4 separate regions of the Homo sapiens genome follow, and regions 1, 2 and 4 are each linked to region 3. Evidence: promoter capture Hi-C in 16 types of primary human blood cells and fetal thymus (Javierre and others, 2016). All regions are on one chromosome and are shown on one strand. The core of a region is centred on a gene start or on the middle of the fragment in contact, and the rest is flanking DNA. Distances in the headings are between cores, read along the strand shown. Region 1 overlaps NT5C2 (5'-nucleotidase, cytosolic II). Region 2 overlaps CNNM2 (cyclin and CBS domain divalent metal cation transport mediator 2). Region 3 holds the start of AS3MT (arsenite methyltransferase). Region 4 overlaps NT5C2 (5'-nucleotidase, cytosolic II).

What was found. Contacts are between HindIII fragments. The CHiCAGO score rates a contact against its expected background, and 5 or more counts as called.
Region 1: a fragment that was not itself captured here is called in contact with the fragment with the promoter of AS3MT in region 3 in 1 of 17 cell types (erythroblasts); the score reaches 9.0 in erythroblasts.
Region 2: a contact is called between a fragment that was not itself captured here and the fragment with the promoter of AS3MT in region 3, in 1 of 17 cell types (erythroblasts). The highest score is 8.2, in erythroblasts.
Region 4: a contact is called between a fragment that was not itself captured here and the fragment with the promoter of AS3MT in region 3, in 1 of 17 cell types (erythroblasts). The highest score is 5.2, in erythroblasts.

What each region holds. Positions count from the first base shown.
Region 1 is chr10:103,100,297-103,104,036 of GRCh38, reverse strand. NT5C2 (5'-nucleotidase, cytosolic II) reads left to right here. Exons shown (of 19, transcript NM_001351169.2): 7 at 2,711-2,802; 8 at 2,935-2,992. Among named protein-coding and RNA genes, the nearest start is that of NT5C2, 91 kb to the left of the region's middle. The HindIII fragment of the contact is 6,803 bases long and covers 1-3,740 here.
Region 2 is chr10:103,080,417-103,084,124 of GRCh38, reverse strand. It overlaps CNNM2 (cyclin and CBS domain divalent metal cation transport mediator 2), which reads right to left. Exons shown (of 8, transcript NM_017649.5): 8 at 1-3,708. Among named protein-coding and RNA genes, the nearest start is that of NT5C2, 110 kb to the left of the region's middle. RefSeq lists an enhancer at 159-453. The HindIII fragment of the contact is 896 bases long and covers 1,521-2,416 here.
Region 3 is chr10:102,867,842-102,871,180 of GRCh38, reverse strand. AS3MT (arsenite methyltransferase) reads right to left here and starts at 1,711. Exons shown (of 11, transcript NM_020682.4): 1 at 1,588-1,711; 2 at 1,336-1,376; 3 at 970-1,097. The coding sequence starts at 1,588. BORCS7-ASMT (BORCS7-ASMT readthrough (NMD candidate)) reads right to left here. Exons shown (of 15, transcript NR_037644.1): 6 at 1,336-1,376; 7 at 970-1,097. It also overlaps the pseudogene LOC124902567. The HindIII fragment of the contact is 4,429 bases long and covers 1-2,911 here.
Region 4 is chr10:103,118,383-103,122,076 of GRCh38, reverse strand. All of the region lies in intron 4 of NT5C2 (5'-nucleotidase, cytosolic II), which reads left to right. Among named protein-coding and RNA genes, the nearest start is that of NT5C2, 73 kb to the left of the region's middle. The HindIII fragment of the contact is 5,128 bases long and covers 1-3,694 here.

The sequences.
Region 1 (3,740 bases), core at 1,034-3,533, 230 kb before region 3:
CTACAAATATCAAAAATTAGCTGGGCATGGTGGTACATGCCTTTGGTCCCAGCTATATGGGAGACTGAGGCAGGAGGAGTGCTTGAGCCCAGGAGGTTGAGGCTGCAGTGAGCTGTGTTGGTGCCACTGTAGTACAGCCTGTGTAACAGAGCAAGACCCTATCTCAAAAAAATAAAAATAAATTAATAAAATTAAAATTCCCATGAAAAGAAGAGACTGAAGATAGAGGGAAAGAAAGTTATCGAAGCTATTACAGTGGTAGACAAGGCTGGAAAAGAAGGACTCCATCAGGCTTTGCTAATGAGTTAGGACCTTATTTTTTGATAAATTTTTATTCTGTGGGTCACAGAAAGTTAGTAGTAATCTGTGCTGTAACTGTTTTCTTCCCATTCCAAGTGTAGCATTTCTTTTATGATATATTACCTCCCCCAAATTGATTTTTATTTTAAATATATACTAGTGTGATTTGACACTGAAGTTTACAATGTAATTGCTAACTATATTTATAAATCAATTTGGGTTCTAACTGCCTAATAAATGTTAACCATCTTTATGTAAAGGAATTTTTCTTTAATGATGGAGGGAATAGGGAAGTATATTGTATCTAAGGAGACAGTGTCAGCTTATTAAATCTAACTGAAGAAAGTATATTTTTACTGTTACCTTCCACCTTACTTTTATTAAAGAAAATCTTGGAAAGCTAGAAGATAAGATACTCTACAAAGTTATTCATTATTGGGAACTCTCATCTCAGAAGAGTGACTTAAGACAGGGAGCTAATGTGATTTTTATATGTCTAACTAGAGTTTATGCCATTTGTAGTTAACAAACCCAGGCAGGAATTAATCCAGGTCACTCTGAGTGTGAGCTTTAAATTTGATTTCCTTTATTTACATTGTTAATCTCCATGTATTCACTGTCAGAACTGTGCATTTTTATATTTTAGTATTTTTCCCTTTGAGTTTCTCTGAAATGTTTTCTTCTAGAAGTGTTTTTGCATCTTTAACAAATTCTGCTTCACTGGCTTTTTTCTTTTAAACCTTGAATTTTCTTCATGGTTCTGTTCTGTCTCTTCTCTTCCTTCTCTGCACACTAAGTGGTTTCATCTCCTCTAATACTTTTCATGATTCCATCTAGTATCTGTACGTAGATGATCTCAGTTATCTCTCAAGGCTGAATCTCTTTTAAGTTCTTGACCTTTGTTTCTAATTGCCTAATAAAAATCAGTTTACTTCAAACTTAGTATCACTAAAATAGAACTACTCTCACATCACTTCTTATCTAGTTTTCATATTTCTGTTCATCGTACCAACCACCTCTCAGAGACACCTTAGCATGGACATCATCATCTTTGACTCTTTAATGTTCCCCCAGCCAAATCTGCTCAGTTTGCCGGGTCTTATTTTACCTTGGTAATCTCTCTTGAATATATGAGTGAGCTGAGATCACGCCACTGCACTCCAGCCTGGCCGACAGAGTGAGACTCTGTCTCAAAAAAAAAAAAAGAAAAAAGAAAAAATTCTGAGAGTCAACTGGGTGATTCTGGGTTGCACAGCTGATCTCTCTATGCTCTTTCACATGTCTGTGGTTAGCTGGTGGGTGACCTGGCATCTGATCTACAATGGCCTCATGCACATGTCTGGCATTCACAGGCTGTTGGCCGAGTGCTTCATTTCTACATGTAGCCTTCTATCCTCCAGCAGACTATCTCACTGTCATGCACATAGTAGTCCATGGTTCCAAGTGCTGCAAGAGAGATTAAGCCTCAATACACACATGTTTTTCTAGGTCTCTGCTTGGATCCCATTTGCTGCTATACAAGCCTATATTCAAGGATAGAGAAATAGACTGAGTTCTAATGGGAGGAGCCACAAAATTGCATCACAAAGAGACAGGAAGAATTTGTGGCCATTGTTGGAGTGCATCACATTGTCTTTCCCCAGTTTATCCTAAAACAGCCACTAATTTAATTTTGTTTTACAACTCAGCCCCGATGGGATTATCCTCTGCTTTAAAACTGTCAGTAGTACCCTCTTGCCCCTAAATGGTGTAGAAACAGTAGCTTAATCTGCCTCAACCCATCTTTCTAGCTTAATTTTTCTCTGCTCCCCTTTCTCTACCCAAGTTGGACTAGTTTCACAACTGGTCCACCTAGCCTTTAAGGCCCAGCTCATATACCAGCACGTGCATGAATCCTTCCTAGATTTTCCTCTCCTTAGTCCTCACATTTGCTTCTCTCTACCTCTTAAGTTGAAATGGTGTTCCCTTCTTTGGTTTTCTCATAAATGTTTGCACCTTTCTTGTAGTAGTTGTGATTTTTTACCTTATAATTATATGTGTATGTGACCCACCTCGCCCACCACACTGACAACTCTTTTAAGAGCTGGAACCTAAGCTGGACATCACACCTGTAATCCCAGCTACTTGGGAGGCTGAGGTGGGAAGATTGCTTGAGCAATCTTCAGGAGTTTGAGTCCAGCCTGGACTTAAAATAGCAAGACTGTCTTAAAAAAAAAAAAAAATTAAAATTAAAAAAAATAAAGAGCTGGAACCTGAACTCGTTCATCTTCATAGCTATCCATGCGTAATATTCGGAATTCTGTCTTGCACATAGCCATCAAAATATTTGAGTTAATTTTTGAATAATGCTATTTCCCAATTATTATAATGTTATTTTAAAAATCAGTTAATTTTTAAATTTTTCTTTCAGACCAGAAACTAGAGAACAGTATCCAAATAAATTTATCCAGCGAGATGATACTGAAAGATTTTACATTCTGAACACACTATTCAACCTACCAGGTAGATTCATTCTATGCTTATTTATACTGATGCTTTCCCTTCTGTGACCATTAGTCTGTATTCAAGGGAGGTAATGAAATAAGTTTGAATTATTTCATTATAGCTTATGAATATCTGTTCTTCATTTTTCAGAGACCTACCTGTTGGCCTGCCTAGTAGATTTTTTTACTAATTGTCCCAGATATACCAGGTATGTATATACTATAATTATTTTTTTCCAATTGATTTTTAAAATTAATGCACAGGGTTTTAGAGAACTGGCCATTGTAGGTCTTTTCTGCTTTTCTAAAGTGAATTTAGTGCTAGTGAGAGATGCCACATTGCCAACCTGAGAGATGGGACAGCACCAGCAGCTCCATGCAGGCTCTCACCTCCCACACGGCCCCTCTCCTTGCCAGTGTGCTGCAGCCACCACTTCTGATTGGCTTCTCCTGGGAATGAAGACGGCCAGCAGAGGTGCTAATTGTGACAACTGAGTGGGAGGTTTGTGTGATGATTATCTGTCCAAGCAGAATTACACTAAAACCCCCCAACTCATTTCACAGCAGCTACCCAGGAGCCATTCAGGGATGGTAATTTAATTTCATTCCCAGGCCAGGCAAGATTTGATTAAGGAATAAATACTGTGTATCTTATCAGAAGTAAAATTTTGCGTAAGTCTTAAACAAGTTATCCTCTCCCTTTAGGGAGAATTATATAGCCAATACTGAAAGTTTAGCCATCTATATACCAGAGTTGGCTAACTTCTTATCCTCTTTGGGCTTTATCCACTTGAAGACACTAAATTTGGTGGAAAGCTGAGTCACTGAACTAAATAAAAAAATGGACAGTACCTTTGTACTTAGGGACAGTGTCAGGAAAGTCAGGGTGGAAAGAACCTAAATGACCAATTTTAAGTTTTAAATGTTTCTTCAACCTGTTTCTAAAAAGTGATAAAT
Region 2 (3,708 bases), core at 719-3,218, 210 kb before region 3:
AATGGATCACAGAGGGTCCCTGAAGCTCCACCGTAAGTTCTTCAGGGACTGGTCTCATGTGAGTGATGAGGGTAAGAAGGAACAGAAGACAAAGTAGTGATGGAAAAGAACGTGTATCATACACACCGATTACTGGGGAATGCAGGATATCCACTGAATCCTGAAGACCCACCTGCACACGCCTCGCCACACTCAGGCCGGATGTTTTCCACTTGAAAGTGACTATCCATGCCTGCTCCGACCTTCCTCCCAGGCTTAGCATAGCAGAGGAGGACCTATAAAGCCATCCTTGTTTTCAAGAGCCAATTGAGAGGCCTGAATGAGACCTTTGGTCTTACCTAGGAAATGCCGGCTTAGCCCAGCGGCACTGTGTGTTGTTATTAGTGACTGAGCAGCCAATGTCTGGGGCAATTTGACTGGATACTCCGAATGTTCTTATGTAGAGAGTAACTGATGGAGAACAGATTATAATCCTTGCAAAGAAGGACACCTTCCCCCTAGGATTGGCTGTACCAGGCTGTGACTTGGAGGCACAGAACTAGTACCCACTTCTCTTAAGACTTTACACTGTCCAAAGAAGATGCTCTTCTATGTTGTCATGCTGAGATCCAGTCCCAGCTTTCCCACCAGCAAAGCCAGGCAAGTGGGTAGGGCAGTTGGTTCAGCCAAGCTGAATACAATGGCATGGTTGGTGTTGCACAGATGAAAGGGAAGAGGGAACACACATCTGCTAGCAGGGTGAACAGAACATCATTTATCTAAATAGAATAGAAATAAACAAAAACCTTGTAAAACAATCACAAAATTTACAAATAAATTGGTACAAAATAAATAGGAGAGACTGTACATCTACATCATTTGAATTATAAAATGCATTCATTAAGACAATCAGCTCAATCCTATACATGTCATTTGTGCTTATTTAGGTTTATGTACACAGCTCTGAATACTGTGTTCAGAAAACTTCACTGCTCAAATGCATGACCTGTACACTATGATACAGTGAATAAAGGCTGAGGAGGATCAAAGTCAGACACAAAGCAGGGTCTTACTTGAGGGCCAAGGCAATGTTGGCACTGGGCCTCAAAACCAAGAAAAGGCATATTAAGAGCCCAGATAGGCAGGCAGCTTCCATTATCCAGAAAGATGGATTATGCAATCTAAGGTAAGTGGAAGAAACCATTATCACTGTGGGGCCAGGCAAGTGACCTGCCTTGGGAGGAGGGAGGCCGTGGACTCACAGCTGTACTGTACCCTACATAGGGGAAGAGAGCCTGTCACCAAGAAACCACCTTGGAAATATTTCATGGAGGTACTTGAGAGGCCCTGCCCACAAGGTAGGAGACCTGCCTCCATCCTCATCCAAAACACTGGTCATAAGGAATACAGGTGGGCCCAACTAAAGGGGCTGGGGATGCTAGGGCCAACATAAAAGCAGCAACCTGTTTATAAAAAACAACACTACCCTCTCACCCGCCTTAAAGGACAGCAGAACCCTAGGATCCATGGATGAGGAAGCTTCAAGACAGACCTTGTCCTAGTCACAGACGAAGTACTAACAGGCATATGTACATAATAAATAATATAAAATAAAGCATATACATTTGTGGGTTTAAAGGACTCAAACAAGAAAAAATTGATAACTTCACCTTCACAGTAGATTCAGACTTGGGGAGTAATGATCAGAAGCGAGGCTGGGGCTCTCTGGGGAATGAGAATCCTAAGACCTCATTCTTCCCAACTTTGCTCTGCTCTAGAAGTCTGAGCCTCCAACAAAAAAGGCAGGCACCCAAGCCCCACCAGGCCCATTGGATAGTTCTCTTCAGGGTGAATCTGCAGCCAAATCTGGCCCCCAAAGAACTGCATCCTAAAAGTGAATCCATGTGGATCAGATGCCGGAAGGCGTCCTTCCAAGCGAGGCAAGACAATGCTCCCATTCTTCTCATTTGTTCACGGTCCCAATGGGCATTAAAACCTGAAAACCTTGTGTACTCAAGTCTTTCTTACAGTATGTGTTGGATCTGTGTACATATAAACCTTGGCATACAAACACCTAGAACTTTACTCTCTTGCAGCTAGAACCTTTGTTTCCATGATGCTTGAAGTTCAACCTGGTATTTCCCATCAAAAGATATTTAAAACAATTCTAGTAGAGATGATGTCAGTAGCTCTAGCATACAGAGAGAACGTGCTTACTTGAGCTGAGCCAACCACAGTGGTGTGAGAAGCAAAGAAGGTCCCCAGCCTAGGATGGTGGGAGGAAAGCTGCTCCCTACTCTATGCAGTTGCTGTGAACTGCCATCTCTTCTTCGCATCCGTAGGGTTGACCAGGGACTCTAGAATATGAATCTCCAGATAGGAAAGAAGGTAGCAAAAGGGAAATGGGCAAGTAAACCGTGATCGCAGACAGAAAGCTTGCAAGTGCTAGAGGAGGAAGGCCTACTTGTCACAGCCTTGCTAAGTAACAGCAGCAAGCTATTGGTGCACCACTCACCCCTCAAACGGAGGCAAATGAACCTCAACTTAGAAGTCTCTGAACGTCTCTCTCCTATTAACCAACTTGAACACCTAAGAAATAGGAAAAGATAAAGATTTGCAAATGACCCTGAGGTATAAAAATCCACTGAGAAGTTGCTCATTGATACATCAGAAAAATTTCTGAATCCCCAGATCACTTTCCTATTCAAACCCCTATATCCCTACTAAATTCTGGGTTAACCTACAACTCACCCAGATACCCTTGATGGACAGAAGCACCACTAGCCTAGAGCCCAGAATGGAACTACATGGCCCAGGACAAGAGCCAGTTTCCTCAGTAAGGAAGTAAGCAATGGCACCTCAGAGGCCTTCTGGACCCTAACCTACCAGCTCAGTCTTGTATTTCTCCTCAACCCTTTGCAAAGAAAAGCCCATATCTGGGCTCAAAAGCAGAGGGGAGTTTTTCCCATGCCACCAGGGAGCTTGGGTCATGCTACATAGCGTGCAAAGCCAGCCCTCCCTGGCCTGCTCTTGCTTGGAGCCCCAGAGAACAAGGTGAGCACCTTCCTGTGCCAGCCCGGGTGAGTCATCTGCCTAGGATCACCCCTGGGGAACCACAGGGGCAACTCTGGTTGCCCAGGAGACCTCACCTTCCTGGGCCTAGGCAAGGCGAGGATGGCTACAGATCCCCGGCTGGCCTTCAGATGACAGAGGTGGTTGTGTGTTTTTACTAGGCAGGACACAGACTTGATCAGCCAGGGCCTATACAGGTCTGCTCCTCAACCCAAAGAGAGAATTTGAGGGCAGAAGTTCATGGTACCTGCTTAGCTCAAATTCCTATTGCTCTATTTCCTAGGGAAAATGTATTTCTATTTGTATCTACCATTATTTTCCTAGGCTTGGAAAAGCTGGTCCTTTAGTGTACAGTGCTGACGACAGCACAGGTAAATATACTCACAGTTACTGTTCCGTATTAGTGTGAAGCTCTGCATTCAACATTTGCACTGTTCCTTGAAGTCACATTAGAAGATGGTAAGATGCCCCACTCCCTCCCACTTGGGGATGCCAACCACTTCAACATGGCATTGAACTCCCTGCAGGGAGTGAGGTGAGGAGGGAGGAAAGAACAGAGTTCAATGTAACCTTTCAAGTTCAAATTATGTAAGAATCAAGATTTAAGCCAGTTGATTAGCACCCCGATATCTGTGTAAGTCTTAAGATTTTGTTTTC
Region 3 (3,339 bases), core at 462-2,961:
CCTCCGCCTTCCACGTTCAAGTGATTCTCCTCCCTCAGCCTCCCAAGTAGCTGGGACTACAGGCGTGCCCCACTACACCCAGCTAATTTTTGTATTTTCAGTAGAGACAGGGTTTCACTATGTTGACCAGGTCGGTCTTGAACTTCTGACCTCAAGTGATCTACCTGCCTTGGCCTCCCAAGTTCTGGGATGACGGACGTGAGCCACCGCTCCCCGCCGCGTAGGTGTATTTGAGAGGCGAGATAAAACATCGTGCACAGAAAACACTTCCCGTGATTTACGGACAGACCGAGTGACAGAGTGCTGTGGCAGTTTGGGGAAGAGGCCGCTCAAGGATTAGAGAAGGCTCCATGCAGTAGGTGGGACAGCAGCGTGGTGCTGGATGCGCAGGGTTGGGAAGGAAAAAGAAAAGGGAAGACCTTCCAAATTGGTGACTGCCGGCTGGGCAGGCAGTGCTGATGGAGTGAGGAAGGGAAGGGTCAAAAGGGCCAAGGTTGATTAGTGGGTGCTGAACTGCGCATATCTTGAATGGCAGATCCAGTGAGTGTGACTGTATTCTGTGAGCATGGGTAGGGACTACAGAGTGTTCACGCTGGAGGTTCTTTTTTTTAGGCAATTTTTTTAAAGTACGCATTTATTTTAGAGATGCATCTGGCTATGTTGACCAAGCTGGAGTGCAGTGGCTATTCACATCCCGGATCGCACACTACAGCCTGTAACTTCTGGGCTCACGCGATCCTCTGCCTCAGCCTCCCAAGCACTTGGGACTACAGGCTCACTGGCGCGCCCAGACTCATCGGAGGTTCTTAGAGCAGTAAGATGATGGGTGCTGAGATTTAGGATTTTTACAATAGACAAGGCAAGCTGATGGGTTGGTGGCTACGGGTTAATTCCCTAGTGACCTGCATCATTATCTTTTGGGAAAACTGCTGTTTGGGGTCTTCCTGGGGACAGCACAGGGCACTCTACCTTAGGGCTACTTCTTCGTGTACATTTTGCAAGGCTTCCCGGATGTGCTTGGGGACCGGCCTGGCTGTGGTGACACAGCCGTTGGTCTGGAGGTCTGCCGATCTCTTCAGCACCTGCCCGTAGTAGGTCTGACCCAGCGTCCCACAGTGGAGTGAGGGGTAGAGAGGGAGAAGAGCTGTGACTGCAGCGCGAGGGCTCCGTCACCACCTCCACCTCCACTTGGCCGACCTCAGTTCCCTGGAAAGGTCGAAGCCTAGACCCTGCCCTACCCCGACTCCAGGAGTCCCGGGGGACAGGGTGCGGGCCAGGCCAGACTTCCATTAGCCTAGGCTCCACTTGGGCCATTCCAGGCCCTACAGCTCTCACCTGCACGTCCTTCTGTATCTCAGCGTCACGAAGTGCAGCCACTGTCGGGAGCGGGAAAGTTAGTTGAAAGGAGAGGGTGCTGAGGGACGGGCATGAGGGAGGGGGCCAGTAAAGGGCAGGCAGCGGGCCGAGGGGTGAGGGGAGGACAAAGGTCTCGAGACACAGCTCGGGGGAGGCGCTCGCGTTCCCGCCTTGCGGGGGCCCAGGGAAGGGGCTGGGGGCTGGGGCGGGGCGCCCAGGGCGCGCACTCACTGTCTCCTCGGCCTGCGACTCAGGGCGCGCACTCACTGTCTCCTCGGCCTGCGACTCAGGGCGCGCACTCACTGTCTCCTCGGCCTGCGACTCAGGACGGCGGGCTCCCGCAGCCAGCTCCTGTGCCGAGGCCCCGCCCAGGCTGGCAGGCTTGCTCCGCCCGCCCATCCCGCTCTAGCCCCTCGCTCAGGCGCCCACCGCCTGACCCGCTGTTCCACTGTCATCCGCGCTGCTCTACAGGCTTTCCAACCAGGAGGTCGGTATCAGCATCCCCCTTGTTCGCTCCACTGCGATTTTCACGGATAAATCTCGTACTCTGATTTAAATGAACACTCACCTATATAATGATCTTCCCCCCTCCCCCTTTTTGGGAATAGAATCATCTTTTCTCGATCTGTTTTTTGAAGTCAAGTTTGTTGAGATATAATTCACATTCCGTGAAATCCATCTTTCTTCAGTGTGCAGTTCTGTGAACTCTGGCAAACGTATATACATCACCAAAACGGAGACCAAAATAGCTCTGGCCCACAAGTTTCTTCGTGCCTCTTTGTAGTAAATTCCCTCTTCCCACCCCTAGCTCCTGGGCAACCACAGATGTTTTCCCTCCCTATAGTTCTGCCTTTTCTAGAATGTCACATAGAGGGAACCATTAACAGTATGTAGCTGTTCCCAGTCTATTTTGGGTTGTATTTAGGAAAGCAACTTTGCTAAATTTATTTTCACCTATAGTAATTTTTGGTCAAGTCACATGTATTTTCCAGGTATTGTCACTTCATCTTGCAGAAAGTTTTTTTTTTAATTTTTAAATTTTTTTGAGACGGTCTCTGTTACCCAGGCCCAACCTCCTGGCTCAAGCGATCCTCCCGCCTCAGCCTCCCAAGTACCTTGGATTACAGGCGTGCACCACCACACCTGGTTAATTTTTGTATTTTTTTATAGAGACGGGATTTCACCATGTTGTCCAGGCTGGTCTCCAACTCCTGGGTTCAAGCAATCCGCCCGCCTCAGCCTCCCAAAGTGTTTGGATTACAGGCATGAGCCACAGTGCCAGGCCCAAAAGTATTTTTTGTTTTTTTAAATATGGAACACTTCACGAATTTGTATGTCATCTTGCGCAGGGGCCATGCAAATCTTCTCTATCATTCCAACTATATGTGCTGCCGAAGCGAGCACCCAAAAGTATTTTTAAATTATTTATTTTTACTTCCACAATTATATGTGTATATCTTGTTTCCCTTTGTGGTTGTAACAAGCATTTCTCTTTTTATAATTTAAATTAAAAAAAAATTTTTAGAGACAGGGTCTCAACTCTGTGGCCCAAGCTTAGCGTCACTGCGCAATCATCTCTGGATCCTTCAACTCTGGCCTCAAGCCATCCTCCCTCCTCAGCCTCCCCAGTAGCTGGGACTACAGGTGCAAGCCACCATGCCCAGCTTGTAACGATCATTTCTATTCATTAGGACAGTAAGGAAACAGGGAGATCCAAGTGAAAGGATATCTAAATGGATGAAGTAGACTCTTTCATTCATTTTTCAATCTCAGTTGCCAATAATACAAAAATCTGGTTGATATCCAGCTAGTAAATTTTCATCTTCTCTGATGTCAATTAGTTGTTACAAATTAATAGAAAGGTGGTGTCTTTTATATTTTTAACAAATTAACCCCATGGAAATAATCCTTGTTGGAATATTTCTACAGCTTGGAATATTTCCAACTAGTATATGTATAAAACTTAGTGTTTTTATAAGTATC
Region 4 (3,694 bases), core at 1,152-3,651, 250 kb before region 3:
TCAGTCTCCCAAGTAGCTGGGATTACAGGCGTCTGCCACCACGCCTGGCTAATTTTTGTATTTTTAGTAGAGACAGGGTTGGCTAGGCTGGTCCAGGCTGGTCTTGAACTACTGACCTCAGGTGATCTGCCCTCCTCAGCCTCCTAAAATGCTGGGATTACAGGCTTGAGCCATCGTGCCTGGCCGAGAATTCTAAAATTAAATAGTGCATTTTTTTCTCAATTAAAAAATCTTAGGGGGATTGGAAATACATTTTAGGTCCCTCTCTTTTGAATTTTTCTGCCCTCCCCTCCTTTCTAGGCCATATCATTAGCCTCTGGGGAGTTATCCCAAACCTAAGCACTTGGCATTAACAAACCTCAAGTGTGGGAGAGGTGATGAATAAAGCTGTTAAGAGTACCGGGGAAGAAATTAAGAGAAACTAGCCTGTGATGTCAGTAAATCAGAGCATTATCTTGCTACTAGCAGAGGCATCTCAGGACCTTTGATCCCTGTCCTCTCGAACATAGTAGATGCACTCTGATCTTGTTTTATTGTTATTGGAATGGACTCAACTCACTTGACATTTAAGTGAACATTTTTTGGATGGTGTGTTTACTTGGACTAGAGTCCAGGGCCCTCATCATGTTTCTGTCAGCAATTGTATATCCTCACCAAACTTACTGGCATTGGAGGTGCTTAAATGAGTGAGAAAAACTATTTAAAGCAAGAAATATTATGCAGTATTGGTGTATTGTCACTACAGGCATCTCAAGTCCAGCATTAAAAAAATTTATGGTAAAATATATAGAATATAATATTACCATTTTAAACCATTTTCAAGTATACAATTCAATGGCATTAAGCACATTCACAAAGTTGCACAATGCTCACCACTATCCATTTCCAGAACTTTTTCATCATCCCAAACAGAAACTCCATACCCATTAAGCAATAACTCCCCATTCCCTCCACCCCTCAGTTGCTAGTAACCTCTAATTTATTTTGTCTCTATGAATTTGTCTGTTATAGGTATTTCATAAAAGTGAAATTATACAATACTTGTTTTGTGTCTGGCTTATTTCTTTTAGCATATTTTTTAAATTTGTCCATGTTATAGCATATATTACTTTTTGAGACTGAATAATATTCTACTGTAGGTATATACATTTGTTTATCTGTTCATCTGTTGATGGACATGGGGATTGTCTCCACCTTTTGGCTATTATGAATAGGCTGCTGTGAACATTGGTATTTAAGCATCTGTTTGAGTTCCTGCTTCCTGCTTTCAGTTGTTTTGGGTATATACCCAGGAATGGAATTGCTGGATCATAACGTAAATCTATGTTTAGCTTTTTAAAGAACTGCCAAACTGTTCTCTATAGTGGCTGTAACATCTTACATCCCCACCAGCAATACATGAATGAGAGTTCCAGTTTCTTCACATCTTGGCAATACTTATTTTCAGGTTTTTTGTTGTTGTTTGATAATACTCATTCTACTGGGTGTGAAGTTACGGTATCTTATGGTTTTGATTTCATGTTTCTCTAATGGCTGGTGATATTAAGCATCATTTCATGTGTTTATTTAGTCAGTTATATAACTTCTTTGGAGAAATATCAGTTTTTTAAAATTAGGTTTTTAAAATAACTGTGGAGTTACACATTCTGCATATTAATCTTTATATATTCTGGATATTAATCCCTCATCAGATACACAATTTGCAAATATTGTCTCTCATTCTGTGGGTTTTCTTTTCCCTCTCTTGATCATGGCTTTTGAGGCACAAAAGTTTTTAATTTTGAAGTCCAGTTTATCTGTTTTTTTCTTTTGTTGCCAGTGCTTTTTGCTGTCATAGCTGTGAAATCATTCCCAAATCCAATATAAGGAAGATTTTCTGCCATGTTTTCTTCTAAGAGTTTTATAGTTTTAACTCCTACATTTAGGTCTTTGATCCATTTTGAGTTTACTTCTTTTCTTTTCTTCCTTTTTTTTTTTTGAAACAGGGTCTCACACTGTCATCCAGGCTGGAGTGCAGTGGTGTGATCTCAGCTCACTGCAACCTCTGCCTCCCAGGCTCAAGTGATTCTCCCATTTCAGCCTCCCAAGTAGCTGGGACTATAGGCTCGTGCCATCATGCCTGGCTAATTTTTTTATTTTTTGTAGAAATGGGGTTTCACCATGTTGCCCAGGCTGGTCTCTAATTCCTGGACTCAAGCAGTCCACCAGCCTCAGCCTTCCAGAGTGCTGGGATTACAGGCATGAGACTGCAACTGGCCACGCCTTTTTTTTTGTTTAATGAAACCAATGACAATGTAAAAGTCTGTGCTTTAGCATTTCTTCTTAAAGAACGATGAAACTCTTTGATGAATTAAGATGGAAGATTAGCTGAGCTGAACTTACTATTGATAGCGTGTAAACTGGTTGCATCTATTTGGAGTTCTTACTGTGACGAGAGGTCTCTGAAAGGAATGTATTTGTTGAAAAGTCTTTGGTACAAAACAAGAAAGGTAACCTTTATCAAAAAGACCAAAGAAATTCTCATTGTCCTAGGTCATGAAATAATACTCAGGGCATCCTCCTCACAACTTGGAAAATATAGAACTTGTGCATTACCTCATCCCACTGGCTTCCAGATTATATGTGCAAGAGATATTTGTGTGAGGGAATGAGCACTTCTAAGTCAGTGAAAGCTACCAACCTGTATATACCCTCTGACTTTTTTTTGGAGACAAAATTTTGCTCTTGTTGCCCAGGCTGGAGTACAATGGCGCGATCTCAGCTCACCGCAACCTCTGCCTCCTGGATTCAAATGATTCTCCTGCCTCAGCCTCCTGAGTAGCTGGGATTTCAGGCATGTGCCACCATGCCTGGCTAATTTTGTATTTTTAGTAGAGATGGGGTTTCTCCATGTTGGTCAGGCTGGTCTTGAACTCCCCATCTCAGGTGATCCACCCATCTTGGCTTCCCAAAGTACTGGGATTACAGGTGTGAGCCACTGTGCCCGGCCCTCTGACTTATTCTTGAGAGATTTATCAGTTTGTGAATGGATCAAAAGCATACAACTGAAAATTAAAGAACAGAAAAATAGATGTAGTTTGACTTACTACATCTTAAAAATGCATTCATGATCTCCCTTAGTGATCTTTTTTCTTAAGAGTTTTTGGACTCTTGCCCTCCCCCACAAATAGGGTAGAATAAGAGAATAAGCTGAGTATTTAAACTAGGGTAACAGATAAAAAGAAAAAAAAAATTCCCTCTCCAAAAAGAGATGATCCCTTAAAAAACAAACAAACAAAAAAGATAATTGTGGTTAATAAAATTAATAAAAATAAATTAGAAAACATTCATAAAACTAAACAAAGTAAAAATCTAATCAGAATATATCATAAGGACTCAACCCCTAAAGGAGATTTGTGAAGATGAAATGTGATGATTTTGTCCAGGCATGGTGGCTTATTCCTGTAATTAATGCCAGCACTTTGGGAGGCCGAGGCAGATGGATTGCTTGCACCTAGGAGTCCAGGACCAGCCTGAGCAACATAACAAAACCGCATCTCTACAAAAAATGCAAAAATTAGTTGAGCGTGGTGCACGTCTGTAATCCCAGCTACTCTGGAGGCTGAGGTGGGAGAATTGCTTGATCCTGGGAGGCGGAGGTTGCAGTGAGCTGAGATTGTGCCACTGCACTTCAGCCTGGGCTACAGAATGAGAC